Linked DNA regions of Homo sapiens: region 2 is linked to region 1. The links are contacts of gene promoters, found by promoter capture Hi-C in human tissues and cell types (Jung and others, 2019). All regions are on one chromosome and are shown on one strand. The core of a region is centred on a gene start or on the middle of the fragment in contact, and the rest is flanking DNA. Distances in the headings are between cores, read along the strand shown. Region 1 holds the start of LONP1 (lon peptidase 1, mitochondrial). Region 2 has its middle 13 kb from the start of MLLT1.

Evidence for each region. The method cuts DNA at HindIII sites, captures the fragments that hold promoters and counts their contacts. A contact is called where the count stands out against the background at its distance.
Region 2: a contact is called between a fragment that was not itself captured here and the fragment with the promoter of LONP1 in region 1, in 1 of the 25 tissues and cell types used here (dorsolateral prefrontal cortex).

Annotation. Positions count from the first base shown.
Region 1 is chr19:5,716,871-5,722,894 of GRCh38, reverse strand. It overlaps LONP1 (lon peptidase 1, mitochondrial), which reads left to right and starts at 2,749. Exons shown (of 18, transcript NM_004793.4): 1 at 2,749-3,191. The coding sequence starts at 2,763. CATSPERD (catsper channel auxiliary subunit delta) reads right to left here and starts at 2,258. Exons shown (of 22, transcript NM_152784.4): 1 at 2,087-2,258. The coding sequence starts at 2,157. RefSeq lists enhancers at 2,500-2,599, 2,552-3,068, 4,102-4,617, 4,618-5,134 and silencers at 2,880-2,929, 3,060-3,139. The HindIII fragment of the contact is 49,943 bases long and covers 1-6,024 here.
Region 2 is chr19:6,289,986-6,295,438 of GRCh38, reverse strand. No RefSeq gene overlaps it. Among named protein-coding and RNA genes, the nearest start is that of MLLT1, 13 kb to the right of the region's middle. The HindIII fragment of the contact is 5,354 bases long and covers 1,080-5,453 here.

The DNA.
Region 1 (6,024 bases), core at 1,500-3,999:
AGGCTCCTTCACAGACCCCAGCTGAGGAAAATTATGAAGTCCTGCAACAAGGTATTCGGGGCTCCTTAAGGGAGTGTGTGGTGACTGGAAGGATGGTATAGTTTACAGCAGAGGTGCTCAATCTTGAATATGCATCAGAATCACCGGGGTTGCGGGGGGGGGGGTCTTGATAAACCACCGTTTGCTGGGTCCCACTGCCAAGTCCCCGACTCAGTAGGTCCAGGGAACTGCATTTCTAACCAATTATAATAAATTCCAGGTGATCTTGATGCTGCTGGTCCAGGGACCATTCTTTGAGAGCCTGTGTGGGGAAATGAGAGAACTGGATATAACCCACATTTTCAGAACTCGAGACAAATCCTATTAGTAAATTTCACTGGAAAATGTTTCTCCCACTTACTAGGTATGTGTTGTTAGGCAAGTGTGTCTTTAACTTTCCTAAGTATGCTTTCGTATCTATAAAATAAGGGTGTTGGCCGGGCGCGGTGGCACACGCCTGTAAGCCCAGCACGTTGGGAGGCCGAGGCAAGTGAATCACGAGGTCAGGAGTTCGAGACCAACCTGGGCAACATGGTGGAACCCTGTCTCTACTAAAAACACAAAAAATTAGCTGCACGTGGTGGCAGGCGCCCATAATCCCAACTACTCTGGAGGCTGAGGCAGGAGAATTGCTTGAACTTGGGAGGCGGAGGTTGCAGTGAGCCGAGACCGTGACATTGTACTCCAGCCTGGGCGACGAGAACAAGACTCCATCTCAAAAAAATAAAATAAGGGTATGGCTGGGCATGGGTGGCTCATGCCTGTAATCCCAACACTTTGGGAGGCTGAGGCAGGAGGATCACTGGAGCCTAGGAGTTCAAGACCAGCCTGGGCAAAACAGTGAGACCCCATCTCTTTTTTTTTTTTTTTCCTTTGAGACAGAGTCTCCCTTTGTCACCCAGGCTGGAGTGCGATCTCAGCTCACTGCAACCTCCACCTCCTGAATTCAAGCGATTTTTCTGCCTCAGCCTCCCAAGTAGCTGGGATTACAGGCACCTGCCACCAAGCCTGGCTAATTTTTGTATTTTTAGTAGAGACGAGGTTTCATCATGTTGGCCAGGCTGGTCTGGAACTCTTGACCTCAAGTGAGTGATCTGCCCACCTCTACCTCTCAAAGTGTTGGGATTACAGGCGTGAGCCACTGCACCCAGCCAGTGAGACCCCATCTGTACAAAAAATAATAATAAATAAAATAAAATAAGGTTAAGGAATCATTATGAATCTTCCTGTAAACATCAAATGAGGCCATACACCCTAAGAATACAGCTCACAGGTCCCTACTGAATGTGACAGTTTAGTCCAGATGGGAGTTCCCTGAGGGCAGGAACGGAGTTTCAGCAACTGGTCCCCATGGCAGGTTGGAGTATGCACTAACCTAACATTTACTGAAATTTCAAAATGTGCTGGGTAAGGCTGGGCGCGGTGGCTCACGCCTGCAATCCCAGCACTTTGGGAGGCGGGGGTTGCAGTGAGCAGAGATCGCGCCACTGCACTCCACCCTGGGAAACAGAGCAAAAACTCCGGCTCCAAAAAGAAAAAGAAGTGGGAGGGCTAGGCCCGGCGTGGTGGCTCACGCCTGTAATCCCAGCACTTTGGGAGGCCGAGGCAGGCGGGTCACGAGGTCAGGAGATCGGGACCATCCTGGCTAATACGGTGAAACCCCCGTCTTTACTAAAAATACAAAAAAAAATTAGCCGGGCGTGGTGGCAGGCGCCTGTAGTCCCAGCTACTCAGGAGGCTGAGGCAGGAGAATGGCGTGAATCCGGGAGGCGGAGCTTGCAGTGAGCCGAGATCGCGCCACTGCACTGCAGCCTGGGCGACAGAGCGAGACTCCGTCTCAAAAAAAAAAAAAAAAAGAGGTAGGAGAGCTTAATATCGGGCTGGGAGGATGGGGTGGAGTAGGGTGAGCGAGGCGTCAAGTTCGATTCCTAAAAAGAGTAAAAGGGGAGCCTCAGTGAGGTTGGGGAGCAGGCCTCGGCTCCAAGATGAACCAGCACCCTCCCGACCCCCGGCAGCACCCCAGCCCCAGGAGTCCTGGCAGCCCCACCGACAGAGCTGAGCTGTGACCAGCGGTCGGAGCCACATGGTCACAGCCGCCACCAGCATCAACATCAGCATCGACTTGGGCTTCCGCCGCCACCACTGCCCCTCAACCGCCACGGGGAGTCGCTGCACAATCCGAGTACGTGCAGGCTGAAGCCCTGCGCATGCGCATCAATGAGTCCCGGGAGCGGGCCTCCGCGCACTGCAGCCCGGCGCTCCGCCTGAATCTTGAGCATGCGCAGACGAATCCCGGGAAGCCCGAATCCGCGCACCCCAAAGTGCGCTCAGAGCCTGAGTATGCGCACCCGGCCACCCGTGGCCAGTCTAGAGTCTGAGCATGCGCATGTTGTCCGCGCGCCTAAGCATGTGCACAGGCTGCTCATGAGTTCCTAAACGTTGCGTTTGCAACACTACCAGTGTTTTGTACGGGCGCTGGCGCCTGCTCACAGCCTTCCACGTGACCGGAAAAGGCCTTCAGCGCATAAAGTGGGAGACCGGAAGAGGCGGAGACGATCCGATGCTCGAACTCCGCCCCCTCTTCTCCGCGTAGGCCCAGCTCCCTGAAGCGGCTGTTTCGAGCCACGCGCCCATCGGGTACCGAGGCACGCGCCGGGCGTCACGTGCGTTTCGCGGCGAGCGGAAATGACGCGAGTTGTGTGAGCCGCCAGTATGGCCGGGCTATGGCGGCGAGCACTGGCTACGTGCGACTGTGGGGAGCGGCGCGGTGCTGGGTGCTGCGGCGGCCGATGCTGGCCGCCGCCGGGGGGCGGGTTCCCACTGCAGCAGGAGCGTGGTTGCTCCGAGGCCAGCGGACCTGCGACGCCTCTCCTCCTTGGGCACTGTGGGGCCGAGGCCCGGCAATTGGGGGCCAATGGCGGGGGTTTTGGGAAGCGAGCAGCCGCGGCGGAGGCGCATTCTCGGGGGGCGAGGACGCCTCCGAGGGCGGCGCGGAGGAAGGAGCCGGCGGCGCGGGGGGCAGCGCGGGCGCCGGGGAAGGCCCGGTCATAACGGCGCTCACGCCCATGACGATCCCCGATGTGTTTCCGCACCTGCCGCTCATCGCCATCACCCGCAACCCGGTGTTCCCGCGCTTTATCAAGATTATCGAGGTAATGGGAGTCCCCGCCTCGGCCTCAGGTTTCCCACCTGTGCAAGCAGCGGGCTGAACCGTGGGATCACTTGAGCGCCCTTGTGTTTCGCAACTTTTTCAGACATGAAGTTTCTCGAAGGGTGCAGTTCGAATCCTTGTCTGCTCACCACTAGCTTGGGAACCTTGAGCCAAAGTCCTCTCCCTTTCGGATTTCTTAGGATCCGTTAGATGAGAGGAGTTGAACCCGATGAGCCTAGGATTATCCACTTTAGAACGCCGGTCATAGAAATCCGGGGCCGGGAGGGACCTGAGTAGTGTTACGGCGCTGTTAGTTTTCTCCTTACTTGGCACGAGTTTTGTAATACCTCCTCGCCCCAGGCGCTCTGCCGTCTGGTTACGAGCCTCACTGGGATCAGAATTCATTCCTTTCTTAGACAAATACTTCTTGATTGCTTATTATTTGCCAGAGAGTGTTCTAGGTTCTGGGGATATGGCAGTGAACAAAACAGACAAAAATTTCTGCCTTTGAAGCTGGGCATGGTGGCGCGCGCTGTACTCCCAGCTACTCTGGCGGCTGAGGTGGAAGGATTGTTGGAAACCTGGAGTCCAGCCTGGTCAACATGGCGAGACCCTGTCTCTTAAAAAATAAATCTGCCTTGGAGCTTACATTTTGGCAGGATGAGACAGGCAATAAAGATGTTTAGTAACGATATTGTATTAGAAGGCAATAATTACGAGAAATAGTAGAGCATGGATGGGACAGGAGGCTTAGGAGGGTGGGAAGAGGTGGGTTATTCAGTGTGTTCTTGACCTCCTACCACGTAGCAAGTTCTGAGAATACTGTAGAGAACAAGTCATTCCGGTGGTAGAAATTAGATCATTTCAGACTAAGAGCCTTGGGGGTGGGGAGGGAGCAGGATGATGTAATAGAGAGAAAGCAGTGAGTGTAAGGAACTTGAGCTTTTACAGTAGGAAGGCCCCAAAAGCCTTCTCCCCCAGCTCCCCTTCCCTTAAAAAAAAAAACTACTGATGTGGAAAGTGGCATCTATGGGAAGGTTATCTCCTAACTGGCAGAGCAAGGTCACGCAGTGAGTCAGCCTCTGCGCTCACTCTCCAGACTCTTCTAAACAAATCTCAAGGATCTGTTGGGAAGGGAAAGGCCATTTCAGAGGGGCAGCAGCCAGTAGAGAGGGGACAGAGGGAGCTTCTCCAACGCTGCTCCAAGATTTTTTTTTTTTTTTTTTTGAGACCAAGTTGCACTCTGTCATCTAGGCTAAAGTGCAGTGGCGCGATTTCAGCTCACTGCAACCTCTGCCTCCCGGGTTCAAGTGATTCTCCTGCCTCAGCCCCCTGAGTAGCTGGGATTACAGGCGCCCGCCACCGTGGCTGGCTAATTTTTCTATTTTTAGAAGAGACAGGGTTTCACCATGTTGCCCACGCTCGTCTCGAACTCCTGACCTCAAGTGATTCACCCGCCTCAGCCTCCCAAAGTGCTGGGATTGCAGGTGCGAGTCACTGCGCCCGGCCCCAAGGCCTTTCCTTGATGTTGAGTACTGGTTACTGATGCAGGCCCCCAGAGCAAGACCTTGTGGGGTCCTATCCTAGCTCCATAACCTTCAGCAAGTTATTCCTTTGGCTTCCCTCTTCTCATCTGTGACCTGGACATATTAGTGTCTTATTAGAGTTGTTGTGGGATTTAAATGAGGCCATGTGGGCTGGGCACGGTGTCTCACATGTTTAATCCCAGCACTTTGGGAGGCTGAGGCAGGAGCATAATTTGAAACCAGTATGGTCAACATAGACCCTGTCTCTACAAAAAAAAAAAAAAAAAGAAAGAAAGAAAAGCCGGGCACAGTGGCATGCACCTGTCTTCCCAGCTACTTGGAAGGCTGAGGCAGGAGGATCACTTGAAACTGGGAGATCAAGGCTGCAGTGAGCCATGGTGTCACCACTGCACTGCAGCCTGGGCAACAGAATGAGGCCCTGCCTCAGCAATAACGTGATGCTGTTTCCTCTTTGGTGTACTTCTGACATTTCAGGACTCTGCCCCGGAGGCCTTTTTCCCATCCTTGACTTCACCCCTGGCAGTTCTCTTTACCCTCCCAGGTTTCTGGGCCCAGGATGGTGTTCATCAGGCCTGGTCCCCTCCGTTCTGCAGAGCGACAGATGCCCCTTGCTCCCGGTGCCTGAGCAGAGAGATGATTCTTCTAAGAGAGTTCAGACGGCCCACGTGGAGCTAGCCAGGAGAGTTAAATGAGTGGCTGCAGATAGTATTTGGGAGACTGGCAGGTGGTTCTCATTGTATTTCTGGTTGATGATGCATTGTAAATCATAAAAATGGATCCTGCCAAGGCCAGGAGGCAGATGCCAAGGATGCAGCTATCAGCTGTTGGCAGAGGGGAAATTGGGAGGCAACTTCTTTGGGACCCAATAAATGTTTCTGAAATTGTTAGCAAAGCTTGATTTACTCTTCAGTTTGTACTTGACTTGTCTGGCCAACTTGCTCTAGAAGCTTCTCTCCTATTAGCAACTTTTGAGTAAGGAACAATGGCTCTTAATTTTTGGTGGGTATTAAAGAATAAATCATAAGTGTTAGAAGTATTAGTTTCTTTTAAAAACTAACTTCGTGGGCTGGGCGCGGTGGCTCACGCCTGCAATCCCAGCACTTTGGGAGGCTGAGGTGGGCGGATCACGAGGTCAGGAGATCGAGACCATACTGGCTAACAAGGTGAAACCCCGTCTCTACTAAAAATACAAAAAAATTAGCCTGGAGTGGTGGTGGGCGCCCGTAGTCCCAGCTACTCGGGAGGCTGAGGCAGGAGAATGGTGTGAACCCAGGAGGCGGAGCTTGC
Region 2 (5,453 bases), core at 2,507-5,006, 570 kb before region 1:
GATCTCAAAAAAAAAAAAAAAAAAAAAAAGAATTTAGTCAATATATTCACACACACAATTCCTTTTATAAGATTAATTTTTACAAACCTTCTATAACTTGTTTAAACCCTTAGCTTTATCTTATCTAATTTAAAACAATCCTTTAAATTTCTAAATTTGGCAAAAATTTACATTCCCATGCCTTCTTATATTCTTTAACTAAAGACACAGTTTACTTTCCTTATATACTTTGCATGTAAGTCTATTTTCAGGAGTCTCAATTACATGTTATAATGGTAACTCTTAGCAATTCTTATTTTTGGTAAAAAGAAAACCTAGTTAAAAAAAAAAAAGAAAACCTAGTAAGTTATTTTAATTATGTCCTAGGTGCAGATAAGATCTGAATATTTCCAGCATATCTAGGGGTGTGATTAGCTCCCTATGTCCCTAGTCCTTACCAAACCATAAAGCAGGCAAGTCAAACAGTTTTCAAAAGCCAAAGAAGCAGTTTATGACTTTAAAGCATTTAGCAAACCTAATATCTGAGCTGCATAATTTGGACCACATGTCTACATTTTGAAGTCATTTTTATTTTACCAATAATCTTTAAGACTATTTTTATTTCTCTAAGATTAAGTCATGAGAACTAAAAGGCATTGCAGTTTCTATTTTTCTTCAAGAATATTTGACCTAAGTGCTTATTTTTCCTTAAGCTAATCAGTTAGAGTTCTTTTATATAAACATCACACATACAACACATATATAACTATATGACAGACAGGAGATCCACTAGTAGTTGTAAGATTTTTCTTTTTTCCTTTTTCTTTTTTTTTTTTTTTAGACAGAGTCTCACTCTGTTGTCCAAGCTGGAATGTAGAGTCTCACTCTGTTGTCCAAGTGGCATGATCTTGGCTCGCTGCAACCTTTACCTCCTGAGTTCAAGCGATTTTCCTGCCTCTGCCTCCCAAGTAGCTGGGATTACAGGCGCCCGCCAACTCACCTGGCTAGTTTTTGTATTTTTAGTAGAGATGGGGTTTTGCTATGCTGCCAGGCTGGTCTCGAACTCCTGGCCTCAGGTGAATCTCCCACCTTGGCCTCCCAAAGTGCTTGGATTACAGGTGTGAGCCACCGTGCCCAGCCTCTTGTGCCAATTTCTTAATTGGATTACTGGCCGGGGGGTGGAGCCCTTCGAGAACCAGGGCTAGGAAAACATGTAGTTTCTAAGGCTTAATAAGTAGGCATAGCTGGAAGACAAAAATAGATTTTGAGAGGGATCCATCTGCCCGTAATTCCTGAAGTTCCTGAGGAAAACAGAGGTTTTTCCCAAAACGGATCAGTGGCGCCTCCTCTGTTTTTCCCAAGGAGTCCCAGGCCACCAGAAGTCATCCTGGAACCCCTCATGTGTGCATTAAGAGTGGCAAGACAAAAATGGAGAAAAATTGTTCAGTTGACCGAAAAGAAAACACCTTTTTCCAGAAAAACAAAATCTACAACGATAAACGACATAAAGGCCTTTTAAATATACCTATAGTTTGGATATCCTCCATCTTTAATTAAGCTGACTTTTAACCATCACATTTCCTTTTTTTTTTTTTTTTTTTTGAGACAGAGTCTTGCTCTGTTGCCCAGGCTGGAGTGCAGTGGCTTGATATCAGCTCACTGCAAGCTCCGCCTCATGGGTTCATGCCATTCTTTTGCCTCAGCCTCCTGAGTAGCTGGGACTACAGGTGTCCACCACCACACCTGGATAATTTTTTTTGTATTTTTAGTGGAGACGGTGTTTCACCATGTCAGCCAGAATGGTCTCGATCTTCTTACCTTGTGATCTGCCCGCCTCGGCCTCCCAAAGTGCTGGGATTACAGGTGCAAGCCATCACACCTGGCCAACCATAGCACTTCCTTTTTAAGAAGTCCTGGCCAGGCGCAGTGGCTCATGCCTATAATCCCAGCATTTTGGGAGACTGAGGCAGGTGGATCACCTGCAGTTAGGAATTCGAGACCAGTCTGGCCAAATGGTGAAACCCTGTCTCCACTAAAAATTACAAAAATTAGCCGGGCATGGTGGCACATGCCTGTAATCCCAGCTACTTGGAAGGCTGAGGCAGGAGAATTGCTGGAGCCTGGGAGACGGAGGTTGCAGTGAGCTGAGATTGCACCACTGTACTCCAGCCTGGCCAATAGAACAAGACTCTGTCTCAAAAAAAAAAAGGAAATCTTTTAAAATATGTTACTACCTGACCTTAGCCATGCCAAATGGCCAATACTTCTGACTTTTGAACTCATGGAGGGGCAGAGAATACAGTTTTTGTCATTCCTACAACCAGCTTGCACAGAGAGAGAGAAGCCAGAAGTCCAACTGCTAAAAACTCTTACCCTTTTGTCAGCATGTCAGGCTTCTGGGTTCCATTCCCCTGAGCCATGGAGCCCTATTGACCCTGGAGTCCTGTGAAGGGGAACAGCCAAAGAGAAGTTGTCCCTCCTCAAGAAATTGCCAAGCAGTTTAACGCTTGGGGAAATTAAACTCTTCCTAGTTTGCGGGATGGATCCCAGGGGAGTATCCTGTGGTACAGAGGTGTGATTACCCATCTGTGAAGAGAGAACAGAGGAGGAATAAAGGAAAAATGTTTTTTTCTCCAGAGTCTGAGGGTCAAAGGAGTTCCAGTGTCTTTTTTCTTTTCTTCTTCTTTTTTTTTTTTTTTTTGGCAGAGTCATGCTCTGTCACCCAGGCTGGAGTACTGTGGCACAATCTCAGATCACTGCAACCTCTGCCTCCTGGGTTCAGGTGATTCTCCTGCCTCAGCCTCCCAAGTAGCTGGGATTACAGGCACATGTGCCACCATGCCCAGCTAATTTTTTGTATTTTCGGTAGAGATGGGGTTTTGCCATGTTGGTCAGGCTGGTCTCAAAGTCTTGGCCTCAAGTCATCCACCCACCTTGGCCTCCCAAAGTGCTGGGATTACATGCATGAGCCACCACACCCGGCTGCGTTCCAGTAATTTAGAATGCACTTGAGAGGAGTGCAGGCTGAAAATGATTGGTTGCTTACCCATCTGGAAAGAGGGGAAAGACATCCCTTTGTTCCTCTCTTTCCAGTGAATACCTGGGGTACGTGATGGAGATTTTTTTAAAAAGGCATCTCTTTTTCCTCTTCCAACCTTATATCCTTGAGTCCCAGTGACCTTTGCAGGTGCCACTCATAGCTGCGAGTGCAACCTTCACCCATGCAGCGGGAAGGCCTAGTGGGTAGGAATATTCGCACTTACCTACATACCACCCTATCCTTCTGCTGTTGGTAACCTTTGGGTTCCCTAGACCTTATCTATGCTTCCATCCATGAAGCAGGAGGGCTAACTGGCAGGAATTAGTCATGCTCACCTGGGCTGTGCCTCTCAACTCCTGCTGTCATCTGCCTCAGGTCTAATGTCCCATTTCAGGACTTTAAAGTGAAGCTTGGGACAAAAAAGGTGACTCAGATGGGTCTATGGACCCATTAAATTAGTCCCATGTGGCCCTCGCCAAATTGCAGATAGCAACTGGAGGGGGCTGCTCCTCTACTGCCTCTCTATCATAAGCAGGTGAAGCCGTGAGGCCAGGTCCTCCTCAAACAAGGGAGAGAAAGGGAGTCCCAGAAATTGGGGACCTGACCTAATAAGGTGCCTCCCTGATACAGTTTGGCTCTGTGTCTCCACCCAAATCTCATCTTAAATTATACTCTCATAATTCCCACATGTTGTGGGAGAGACTCAGTGGGAGGTCATTGAATCATGGGGATGGTTTCCCCCATACTGTTCTCATGGTAGTGAATAAGTCTCATGAGATCTGATGGTTTCATAAAGGGTTTCTGCTTTCACTTCTTCCTCATTCTCTCTTGCTTCTGCCATGTAAGAAGTGCCTTTCTCCTTCTGCCATGATTGTGAGGTTGCAGTGAGTTGAGATTGTGCCACAGTACTCCAGCCTGGGTGACAGAGCGTGTCTCTGTCTTAAAAAATAAATAAATAAATAAATCACTGGAACGCCTTTGACCCTCAGACTCTGGAGAATCTCCTCATGATGTGGAACTGTGAGTCCGTTAAACCTATTTTCCTTCCCAGGCTTGGGTATGTCTTTATCAGCAACATGAAAACGAACTAATACACTCCCTAACGGAAACAAAAGTAACCCCACAGAGAAAAGCTCCCTGTAGTCACAAGACTATGTTGACTCCTGGCGTGGTGGGGAAGAAGACCTGAGATGCTGCTTACAGTCGTGCTAAGAGAGGAAGGGGGCCTGGGTTGGGGAGGAGAACTGAAAGGCCTGCTCCAGAGTCCAGGAGGTGGCTACCTTCCTCCCTTCAACCCAGGGCTCCTGGATGGTAATAGTGGTCTGAACCATCAGAGCTTGGGAAAGGAGCCCTAGAATCCATCTGTCCTTCTGGACCATCTGGAAGTCTGGTCCTGGACCCGGCAACCTGTGTCTCCAGGGACAGGCTGCCCCTACAATGGTTCCCACTGCAAACCAGACAGGGTTGAGGTGGCCTCCCCGCACTGCCCAGACAGTCTCTCCTGAAGTGGCCTGGCCTGCCACATTTGCAGCAGACAACGGGTGCATCTCAGGGACTATGGAGTCCGTGAAGCTTCAGGGCAGGTATTAGAGCTTTTGCCTTTTTTTCCGTATCTCCTCTCTCTTTTCTGGACTTCCTCCAAGTTCCCACAGCAAAGTCTAAGGTGACCACTCCCAGGAGGCCCTCCAAAGTACCATCTGGCCCTGCAGCCTGTTTCTGAAGCTCCCTCCTGACATCAGGGCCTGACTGTGTCATAAACTCATCCTCTAGGATCAGATGTCCCTCTCCTCAATCAGGACTTAGGTGTGTTTTACCAAGGCCTCTCTTAGCCTTTCCAGGAAGGCAGTGGGACTCACGCTTAATCCCTGTCTACCATGGATAGCTTAGTGTAATTGAGAGGCTTTGTCCTAGTCCTTCGTATGCCCTCTGGTATGCACACCTGAAAGTGTTTCCTCTTCCATTCTTTTTTTTTTTTTTGAGATGGTGTCTTGCTCTGTCGCCGAGGCTGGAGTGCAGTGGCATGATCTCGGCTCACTGCAACCTCCACCTCCCAAGTTCAAGTTATTCTCCTGCCTCAGCCTCCTGAGTAGCTGGGATTACAGGCATGTGCCACCACATCTGGCTAATTCATTTTTGTATTTTTAGTAGAGATGGGGTTTCACCATGTTGGTCAGGCTGGTCTAGAACTCCCGACCTCGTGATCTGCCCACCTCGGCCTTCCAAAGTGCTGGGATTACAGGTGTGAGCCACCGTGCCTGGCCTCCTTTTCCATTTTCTTTTTTTTTTTTTTTTTTGAGACAGAGTCTTGCTCTGTCATCAGGCTGGAGTGCAGTGGCATGATCTCAGCTCACTGCAATCTCTGCCTCCCAGGCTCAAGTGATTCCCTGCCTCAGCCTCCCAAGTAGCTGGGACTACAGGTGTGCACCACCATGCC